2 separate regions of the Homo sapiens genome follow, and region 1 is linked to region 2. The links are contacts of gene promoters, found by promoter capture Hi-C in human tissues and cell types (Jung and others, 2019). All regions are on one chromosome and are shown on one strand. Each heading gives the region's core, a stretch centred on a gene start or on the middle of the fragment in contact. The rest is flanking DNA. Distances are from core to core; before and after follow the strand shown.

Evidence for each region. Contacts are between HindIII fragments. The study calls those that stand out against the background at their distance.
Region 1: a fragment that was not itself captured here is called in contact with the fragment with the promoter of APC2 in region 2 in 1 of the 25 tissues and cell types used here (dorsolateral prefrontal cortex).

What each region holds. Positions count from the first base shown.
Region 1 is chr19:1,410,864-1,416,461 of GRCh38, reverse strand. All of the region lies in intron 1 of DAZAP1 (DAZ associated protein 1), which reads right to left. Among named protein-coding and RNA genes, the nearest start is that of DAZAP1, 6.1 kb to the right of the region's middle. RefSeq lists an enhancer at 1-528. The HindIII fragment of the contact is 3,172 bases long and covers 1,398-4,569 here.
Region 2 is chr19:1,446,243-1,451,370 of GRCh38, reverse strand. It overlaps APC2 (APC regulator of Wnt signaling pathway 2), which reads right to left and starts at 1,250. Exons shown (of 15, transcript NM_005883.3): 1 at 1,033-1,250. RefSeq lists silencers at 1,204-1,403, 4,147-4,441, 5,091-5,128. The HindIII fragment of the contact is 30,284 bases long and covers 1-5,128 here.

The DNA.
Region 1 (5,598 bases), core at 1,734-4,233, 37 kb after region 2:
TTTCCCTGGGAAAGAGGACACGCATTCAGAAATGAAGTCCCTGAGCTGAATCTCAGCTGTGACTCAGTGCCAGCACCATCATCACCCTTGGTCTCCAGAGAGCAAAACACCGTGCAGGCCAAAGCTCCCACCTGAGCCGCAAGAATCCTGCCAGCCTCACTGAAAGCACCATTCCCACGCGGGGCCCTGTATCCCTGACGGCCAACCACACCACCCTTGGCTTCGGCTTTCAGCAAAAACGTCGCTGTCAGGTTGAACACGTTACTGCCCCACCAGCAGCAGGAGCAACGTGCTCCTCCCTGCTCCTGCCAGCTCGCCAGGAAAGACCCCTGCAAGGTGGCTGGCACACTCATCACCTCTCATCAACCACCACCTGGGGCCTGTACACTCAGCCCCCGCGAGTCAGCCCCTGGTGAAGTGTCTGCCACAGCCAACCGCCAGGAGCTTGTCCCTGTTCCTTCTTTTTTCCCTAAGAACGACTGATTTAAATTTAGTGTGTGAAAAACAAAGCATGTTCCCACCACAGGAAAGGCACCCACTGCCGTCTTCAAAACGTCAACAAGCAACCCCCCAGCCCCGTTCTTCGGTGGGGAGGGCTGAGGCGGGAAGAATTAGAGGCGGGGTGTGCCAGCCGCCCTGTGCTTCCTGACCCTTAGAGACGAGATCTGAAAAGGCAAATTTCAGGGAAAACCATGCTGATCACGCAACAGCAACAGGCTTAGGTTGAGGCCTCATTAACTTAAAATCCTACGTCTCCCACGCACCCTTCGCAATCAGGCCAGGGAGCGTTGAGGTCAGGCCTAGAGACCGTGGGAGGAGCGAGGCCTCCGCGTGCCTCACTCTCCATAGGCTGTGCCTCACTCTCCATAGGCTGTGCCCGCGCTGAGTCAGGGCCAGCCCCGCCCACATCCCTGCCAGCAGGGCCCGGCACCCAGCAGGAGCCAGCAGCAGCCCCCACCCCATGAAGGAAGGGCCCCCAAGCCTGGCTGGAACCGACCGGAAAAATGCTCATTTACACAATCCTTTGGAATTAAAGTTCAAGCAGTTCTCAAAAAAAAAAAAAAAAACAAAACACACACACACACACACACACACACACACACACACATAAAACCCTGAAAACCAAACCAAATCCAAGTCACTTGAAGAAACAGCAGCCTGTAGTCAGCACTGCACCCACCCAACAGCCAGGTAACAGGCAGGTGTCCTCCAAGCAGCCCAGTACCCCCTCCACCCCCACCTCACTGGCAGAAGGAACTCGTCAGACCAGTCCAGTTTCGGTCTTCATTTAAATTTCAAAAATTGTGTATTAAGGGGGAAGGGCTAGAAACGCTCAGCTGAGAAACCTGAAACAGGGCCGGGGGGGTTAGATAACCTGGTATCAGTACTGTCTTTCTCAGCTGGGCGCAGATCACGCCTATAATCACAGCATTACGGGAGGCCAGGAGTTCAAGACCAGCCTGGGCAACGTAACGAGACTCCAGGTGGTGGCAGGCACCTGTAGTCCCAGCTACTTGGGAGGCTGAGGCAGAAGGATCGTTTGAGTCAAGGTCGAGGCTGCAGTGAGCCGTGATTGTGTCACTGCACTCCAGCAGGGGTGACAGAGATCTCATCTCTTAAATAAAATTAAAAAAAAAATAAAAAATACTCTTAAATAAAATTAAAAAAATAAAAAATACTCAAATACAATTTTAAAAAATAATAAATACTTTCTCAATTTTTTTTTGAAAAATTGTCTCGCTGTGTTGCCCAGGCTGGAGTGTAGTGGCGCGATCTCAGCTCACTGCAACCTCCGCCTCCCGGGTTCAAGCGATTCTCCTGCCTCAGCCTCCCGAGTAGCTGGGACTACAGGCGCCCGCCAGCTAATTTTTGTATTTTTAGTAGAGACGGGGTTTCACCATATTGGCCAGGATGGTCTCAATCTCTTGACCTCGTGATCCACCAGCCTCGGCCTCTCAAAGTGCTGGGATGACAGGCGTGAGTAGCTGCGCCCGGCCACTTTCTCAATTTTGATCACTGTGCTGTGTTCATGTGAGAGAATGTCATTGTTCTTGGGAAACAATAGATATCTCAGTGTACACATAAAGGGGACTGCATCGGTCTCCAGCTACTCTCAAATATTTCAGTAGAAACACACACAGTGGGGATGGGTGCACTGGCTCACGCCTGTAATCCCAGCACTTTGCAAGGCTGAGGTGGGCGGATCACCTGAGGTCAGGAGTTCGAGACCAGCCTGGCCAACATGGCAAAACCCCATCTCTACTAAAAATACAAAAATTAGCTGGGCTCGGTGGTGCGCACCTGTAATCCTAGCCACTCGGGAGGCTGAGCTCGAGGTGTACTGCTTGAACCCGGGAGGCGGAGGTTGCACTGAGCCAAGATCAAGCCACTGCACTCCAGCCTGGGCGACAGAGTGAGGGTCCATCTAAACACACACACACACACACACACACACACACACACACACACACAGTTCACTGGGGGTGGGGCAAGAGGCACCACGTGCCAAAGGGTAAAATGTCAGCCAATGGTGAGTCTGGCAGGGCCAAGAGGATATGGGAATTTTTGTAATTTTCCTGTAAGTCAGAAGTTATATATACAATTATGGTATAAAAGACTTTCATTACTGAGAACAAGACAGAATTTCAGTTTCTTTTGAAACAAGTCTCAGTCCTTATGGAATCTGAGACAGCAACAGATAGCTTTCGTTTCACATAGCTGTGTCTGGAGCTCCCCACCGCAGGTGACCCGCCCGCCTCGGCCTCCCAAAGTGCTAGGATGACAGGCGTGAGGCACCGCGCGCGGCCACACTGTGTGTTTCTGTTGAGATATTTGAGAGCAGCTTCTAACGCTAAAGCTTCCTGTGTCCATGTGTCTTTTACTACCACTCAGGAGCCACCGGCGAACACCTTCTCCCTGGTCTACAGACAGAAGCCTCCGGGAAGTCCCGGAAAGCAGGGTCATCTCTTCAGTGGCAGGGACTGCCTCCAGGGCCCTGGCACAAAGTCCCTACTTCTGAATCTCAGGATGTTTTAATCAATAAAATAAGAAAGCTCCTGGCTGCCAACCTCACCAGGTCGTGAGTGAGAAGCCGGCACATCAGAAACATGCGGAGCCCTGGGCAGGCACCTCCCAGACACTGTCCATCAACTGCCCAGGCAGCAGAACCAACTCTCACACAAGTAAACGTCGGAGTCCAGGAAGCCGGGCGCGGGCAGAGGCCAAAAGGAGGAGCTGCTGGCTCTCGTGGGCTTGCTACGGGGCTGGCGGTCCGCTTGTCCTCAGCTCCAGGCTTGCTCAGCCTGCACCTTGGCTGGCGGCGTGTGGACTGAGGACGTTAACGGGGCAAGGCAACACTGGCCTACGCAGATGAAGGGGTCGGTGAGCAATGTGGCTCCTGCACCCTGCCTCTGAGGGGCCCGCTGGGTGGGAGAGTCATCACCCAGCTGACGGCATCTCCGACACTGGAAGTCGTGGCTCCTACAGACCTCACACCCCACAAACCCAAAAGGGGTGTTCTCATTAGTGGGGGAGGCGTGGGACGAGCTCCACTTCTTCCCTTGCAACCTGGAGTCCAGCGTGCAGTCTGCCCATCAAAGGTCATGATGAACATCTCCCAGGATCTGCAAGCCTGGCACCCAGGGCCTGCAGCTCGACACCTGGCAGGTGCTCAATCCACGGTGGCCGGCGCAGCCACCCTCTTCTGCCTGTTAAAGCAAAAGCCGTTTTGGATGGCAACCTCGCTTGCTGCGTGCCATTCGGGTGCCTGTGCGGTATTTATGCGTAAAGTCCATCTGCAGAGGCTTCCTCTGGCCTAGGCTGACCACAAAGAGCCCTGACCTCCTGGCAGCACCAGAGTGGGCTTCAAAAACCGGCGGCCAGCCCGGCCATTCGGGGCCAGCAGCCTCAATGGGGGCAGTTGGCAGGCGACCTTTCCCTTCCTGCTGGGCCGGGGGACCAAGCCAGGAGGAGCCTGCCTCCCCACAGACCCCACCTGGCTCTGGGCTCCGCCAGTCACACTCAGCTCCGTGCACAATCTCAAGAGGCAGAAGTCCAGGCCCAGTGGCGGCTGATGTGTGGGGAACCCTTCTCTTCTTCCAGAGCATCAGGAAGAGCCTCTAGGGACTTTCCTGCCCCTAAGACCAGGTGGGAAACCAGGACCACTTCACCCACTGCCTCAGGCCAGTGAGCCCAGCCCGCCCCTCCATAGCCTGGACTCCCTCTCCCCAGCAGGGTCAGATGCCCCCCCTCCAGCCCACGCCTGCAGGGTGTGGGGTCCACAGAACACAGGAGCGGTCCGTGAACTGGAACGCGCTGCTGTGTGCTGAAGGAGCCCCTGAATGCCCACATCCTGGGTGCTAACTGTGGTCACCCTCATCCTCTCCCTGCCAGCCCCGCCCTCCCAGGCGGACCAGTGTTCTCCTTGGCAACGCCTGGAGCCAAGCTGGAAGCTCAGCCTATAAGCATCTGTCGAATGACTGGCCTCTGCCAAAAGCCCTGTCACAGCTCTCAGGGATTCTGACATCATGACATGGTGTCACGGGGACCAGGCCTGGATGGGAAAAGGCCTCAGTTCACAGAAGACAGCACAACCTCAGATTGACGGGTCGCACCATGAACATAGCCGCCTGACCAGGAGCGCCCTCTGTGCGGGGCGGGCAGTGGAGGAGTGTGGACTCCCAGCTCCGGATCTTCCACCCCCTGGGGTGACCCCGGGCCCATCCCTCAACTCCTCTGTGCCTCAGTCTCTCTGGCAAAGCCAAGGGTTAGAGCCAAGGCTACAAGCACAGCTGGGCACGCTGCGCGCTGCTGCTAGCTCTGGGCCACTGGGGAGCTGCTGTGTGAAGGGCAAGCGCCAGGGTCCATGCTGCTGCCTTTCTAGACACCGGCCTGCTCCAGACCATTGGAGCCAAGGCGAGCCAGTCAGGAGCACATCCACCCTCAAGGCCCATTCACAGGAATCAAAGGAGCCGACACAGGACAAGCCATAAACCACAAGGAGCAGCGGCCCCCAGCGCAGGGGCAACCAGGCCAAAAGCACAGATGCTCCCAGACAGTGGCTCTCCCCCCAGCAGGACACTGGGTGATGTCTGGGAACATTTGTGGTTGTCACGACTGGGGGTACTCCTGACCCGGAGTGAATGGAGGCCAAAGGTGCTGCCCAGCACCCTGCAGTGCCCACGGTGCCCCAGAGTGATCCAGGCCAGAGTGCTGACAGAGCCCAGGAGACCTGCCTCGGAATAACTCCAAATGCACCAAGAGAGCCCCAGAAAGGCCGGCACGGCCCCATGAGGTTCCCTATCACTCCCCGCACTGCAACAGCCTCCCCCAGATCACGGCCCTCTCTGGCCTGACCAACAATCTTGCCAGGTGCCTTGTGCTCACTCTGCACAGGTACAAGTAGTCACGGCCTCTAGGGGCCCAGCCAGGAGCCCCACTCAGGATGTCTCCTTCCACAGCCACCCAATAAACCCAGAGACCTGCCATGGGCCTGGCTCTGAGCTGCATGGCCCCCGGCCACAGTCCTGGGTATCCTCGAAGCTGCCCAGAGGCGGCTTTCTCCTCTCTCCGCTGAGTCCTTCCTCCCTCTGTGACTTT
Region 2 (5,128 bases), core at 1-2,500:
GGTCACCATCCCATGCCCAGCCAGGTGGAAGGACCAGATGACGTGCAAAGCAACACATGTCTGCCTCCTGCTCCCCAAACCCAGGCCTCCCCCACGTGGTTCTTCTCAGCTGACCGAAGCCAAGCCTCAGACACCTTCCCTCTCCCCACATTCGGTGGTCATTTCTGCATCCTCATCAGACTAAGCTAGTCCCTCCAAGCTCTGCCCAGCGGGATCATGCCTCCCCCAGCTCCTGACACCCCTCTGTGAGGACATTCTGATCAGCCTCTTCCTGGCCTCCCACAGTCCCCCATGCACAGCCAGAGGGAGCTTTAAACGTCACAAGTGAGATCCCATTTCTCCCATGCTCAAACACCTTCCATGGCTCCCCAGTGCCCTCAGGATACGCTCCGACTCCTCCATGTACACCGCGACTCACTTAGAGGCTGGAGGCTCTCTTCTCTCAGGCCTTTGCACGTGCAGTTGCCCTGCCTAGAGCACCTTTTCTAAGTCCTGCCATCCCACACAGTGCAGCTTCTTCCACGAAGCTCTTCTGCCTACTTTCACCCCCAGGTTGCATCGTGTAGCCTCCTGGGGGCCTTCCTGAGCGATCACTCCCTGAAGGCACCATGACTGGGGGCTGGTCTTATTGAGCGGGCTGCATTTCAGGGGAGGGAGGCACAGGTATGGGAAGCCAGGCCCAAAGGGGCCTTTCTCCTTCCTTTAATCCAAACCCCCTCTTTCCAGAGAGGGAAACTGACACCCAGAGAGGTGCAGCAACACCCCCGAAGACACACCACTGGCCTGCCCATCCCTTCCTCCGATCACCTCAGGGAGGTCCGGATGGTGAAGCCCGTGAGTGGGTGTGTGCGCAGGACCGGCTGCAGAAACGCTGACGCCCAGCTCACCGGGACTCAGTTTCCCCTCCAGCTCCCACTCTGGGGAAATGGAGGGTCCAGAGTCTGTGCTGACGGGCAATGCTGAGAGCCAGGGATGGAAACCTCGACGCGAGGCGGAGGTCGCGCCCCTGCCCTCCTCCCCGAGGACACACACCCGCTTACGTGCAGCTGGGCTGGCGGGGCGCCTGGGTCTGGGGCCTCCTCCCTCTGCGCGGCTCCGCGGGCCCCACCGGAAATCCCGGCCCGGGGTGGCCTCGGAGCGCGCGGGCTCCGGGGTCTCCGCGGCGCGGGCAGGGGCTCCGGGGCGGACAAAGCCCGGTCCGGGCCTGGGCAGGCGGCGCTGCCGCTCCTAGCGCTGGGCGAGACCACCGCGAGCGGGGGAGGATGCGGGATGAGGGATGCGGGTGAGACAGCCAATGAGGGCGCGGGAAGACGGGCTGGTGCCATGGCAACAGCCAATGGCGGCCCGGGGCGGGGACCGGCGTCGGCCGCGGGGCGTCGGGCCTCCGCGCGGGCTCAGGGGCCGTGAGTGCGGGGGGCGAAACCCCCCCGAGGGAAGGGGGTGCCCCGAGGACCAAGATTCCTGTGTCCCGCACTTTATTGCAGGGTGCAACGGCCTCTTAAAACCTCCTGCGTCTGGATTTGCAGAATTGGAGAGTAAAACATCAAATCCTGGATGTTACATCAGCATCTTGGCGGGGGAGGGGTTTCCAGGGCAGTGGCCGGGCTGGGGCCAGGCCTGCACCCACCCCACAGGTCCAGCCTGGCCTGGTGCAGGTGCGTCAGGGTGGGACAGGGTTCGGGTCCAGGCTGGAGCTCCCTGAGGGTCCTGCCTGGTGGGGAGGGGAGAGGGGAGGAGGGGCAGGGCCACTGGGGAGCACCTGGGACGCTGCATCTCCCCACATTTCTCCCTGTCTCCCCAACGGAGCGTCAGATCCTCCTGTAACTCCGTTGCTCTTCATGTCCCTCTCTCTTTCTGTCTCCCCCTCTGTTCTCTGTCTCTCAATCTCTGTCTCCATGTGTCTCTGCCCCTGGTGGGTGGCACACTTAATTCACCCTCACGGACCGAAGGCCAGAGGAGGGAAGGGCCAGGGGTCCCAGGAGTCGCCATCTCCAGGTGTCCTGGATGCTCCATGAGTCCCTGGAAGCCATTTGAAGGTTTAACACACAGAGCCCGTCCCTGCAGCTCGGAGCAGCCCTTCCTGCTCTGGACACAGACTCACAGCACAGAAAGGGAGGCGACTGGGGCCAGAAGAGTGATTTTTTTCCGTGCTGGGCAGGCAGGGCAAATCATTCGCCGCTCAACCCTCGGTTTCCTCCTCTGTAAAATGGAGAGGAGGCGGAAGATTCTGCAAGGGCTGGTGCAGGGAATGATAGGAGAGGGTGGGAAGGTCCGAGTATTCAAGGCCCCGTAGACAAAGGCAAGGGAGGACCCGTGCTGTTTCCTGTTGGGCCTTGAGCTGAAGACCCGAGGGCCTTGTCCCGGGCCAGCACTGCCAGGGGCTGAGAGCCCTTCGGCCTGGCTGTCTGGGAGCCCCCAGAGCTGGACGCAGCTGTCCCCACTGGTTGGGTCTGGGGAGGCAATGCAGTGGGCAGACACAGGGGATCTTTTCTTTTTTCTTTTTCTTTTTTTTCTTTTTTTTTTTTTTGAGACGGAGTCTTGCTCTGTAGCCCAGGCTGGAGTGCAGTGGCACGTTCTCGGCTCACTGCAAGCTCCGCCTCCCAGGTTCACGCCATTCTCCTGCCTCAGCCTCCCGAGTAGCTGGGACTACAGGCGCCCGCCACCACGCCCAGGCTAATTTTTTGTATTTTTTAGTAGAGACGGGATTTCACGTTAGCCAGGATGGTCTCGATCTCCTGACCTCGTGATCCACCCGCCTCGGCCTCCCAAAGTGCTGGGATTACAGGCGTGAACCACCACGCCCGGCCTTTTTTTTTTTTTTTTTTTAGATGGGGTCTTGCTCTGTCCCCCAGGCTGCAGTGCAGTGGCGCCATCTCGGCTCACCGCAACCTCCGCCTCCTGGGTTCAAGTGATTCTCCTGCCTCAGACTCCTCAGTAACTGGGATTACAGGCATGTACCACCTTGCCAGCTAATTTTTGTATTTTTAATAGAGAGGGGGTTTCACCGTGTTGGTCGGGCTGGTCTCAAACTCCTGACCTCATGATCCGCCCGCCTCGAAGGGGATTTTTTTCTGGAGGCTGGAAGGCTGCCCTGAGAAGTGAACAGCAGTGATCAGGAGGAGAGGCGTTCCAGGCTGAGGGAAGATCAATGCATGCTTGGGACACAGGGGGTGTCTGGTGGAGCCATGGGGTAGGGCGCGTGGTGGGGTTTGACAGGTCAAGCCGGGGCAGAGCTGGGCGAGGCTGAAATGGGGTTGGGGATGCAGAGCCCAGGGCCCTGGCTTCAGCTCAGCCTTGTTGTCCCTGTGTCCCCCTGGGCATGTCTCTCTCTGGCCTCGGTTTCCAGTCTTGTTTACTGAAGGGTGGGTTGGATGATCCCTGCCTCCCCCAAAGAGGAACTAAGTCCCACCTCCCTGTGTAGTTTCAGATGTCTCAGCTCCCCAGGCCCCCATCAGGCAGGGGTTTGGGGGATCCAAGGTCAGTCCTGTCCTTGTATACATGGGGAAACTGAGGCCTGGGCCAGGGAACGTGTTGCCTGAGTTCACCTGTGCCAGCCAGGCCTCCGGAGTGACACTGAACCTCCCTTCTTATCCCTCTGGGGGTGGCCAGGGCCTGGAGGGCTGAGGGTACATGGGGGCTGAGACCCCAAGACAAGATGCCCTTGGCCCCAAATCTACAAAACATTATGTCCCTGAACAATCCCCCCCCACACACTAAAATCCTCGACCCTGTAAATCCTTGAACCACAGCCACACTCAGACATCACCAGACATTTCAGAGCCTCAAGAACCCCCCACAGCCCCCTAGGACTTCAGGAGACTGAGAGAGGTCTCCCCCTTCTCCCACTGCAGAACGCAGGGCCTAGCCCAAGACCCCGACCTAGGCTCCTCCCTGGGGTCCTCCACGCCCCCTACTGCTGCTGGGCTAAAGGGGAAGTTCCATGAAATGCTCACTCCCCCACCCCTGTCCTGTGACACCTCCCCGCAAGTCCGCAGCCTGGCACACGGCTCACTCTTGGAGTGTCTTTGAGCCTTCTGAGTCTGACCTCGAGCTGTCCCCGCCCCCTTGATGCCTCCTCTGTGCCAGGGGCTAGAGGCAGAAACAGGGGCGGCCCCCATCGGGAGCTGGGTGGGGACAGAGAAGGCACCAGGTCATCGCGGGAGGATAGAGACGGCCCGCCGCCGGCTGGGTGGCCGGGCAGAGCCCTGACCGGTGAGGAGGCCACCGGAGGTGGGGGAGGGTGGGGTAGGCCGGTCCAGGCCGCGCCCTGAAGCCTGACCGCCGCTATGGGCCTCAGTTTCCCCGGCGGCGAGTCGGCAGACGTGCGCCTCCGTCAGCACCGCGGACAGCTCCCCGGCCCCCGCCCCGCGTTCTCTTGCGGGCGCCTTAGCTCCGCAACGAGGCTCCGGCCTCGAAGCGTGACCTTGGGCTCCCCGCTGCACCCCCCAGCCTCAGTTTCCCCTCCAATGAGGGATGTCACAGCCGCGAAATTCAGACGATTCCGGAGGCTGGAGAAGCGCTGGGGTCGGGAGCGGACGGATACGAACAGCAGCGGCGGCGAACGTCAAAGCAGGCCATACGCTCGCGCCCAGAAGGGGAAACTGAGGCCCAAAGAAGCGCAGGGCGTGGCCCAGGCCCCCACCCTGCGCAGGGCCGAGCCTCCGCAGGATGCCCCCGCAGCCGCCCCCGCCGCCCCAGCTGGCGCAGCCTCCGCGTCGGCGCAGTGAGGAGGGGTCCGAGGGTCTCCTGCAGAGGCCGAGGGCTGGGCTGGGCGAGCCCTGCGCTTGCGCAGACCCGGGGCTGGGGGTCGCAGCGGCGCACGAGAGGGGCTTCCATCCCCGCCAGCCTTCCGAGGCGGTTTCCCGGCAACGGTCTCTACGGCGACGGCACTAGACCCCCGACTCTGCAGCCTCCGCGCGCTCGCCCCATGCGCCCCCCGCCGCCGCGCCCGCTGTTCCCGCGGTGTGGACCCCGCCCCGTTCCTGCGCGGCCCGGAGCCCTCCCCAACGGCTCGACCCACGCGCCCTACCTGGTCCCCGAAGAAGGCCGAGTGCAGCAGGCTCAGGAGCCCCAGGAGCCCCATGGAGCCGCGGCCGCCCCGGACCCGCCGCGCCCCGCCCCTCGGCGG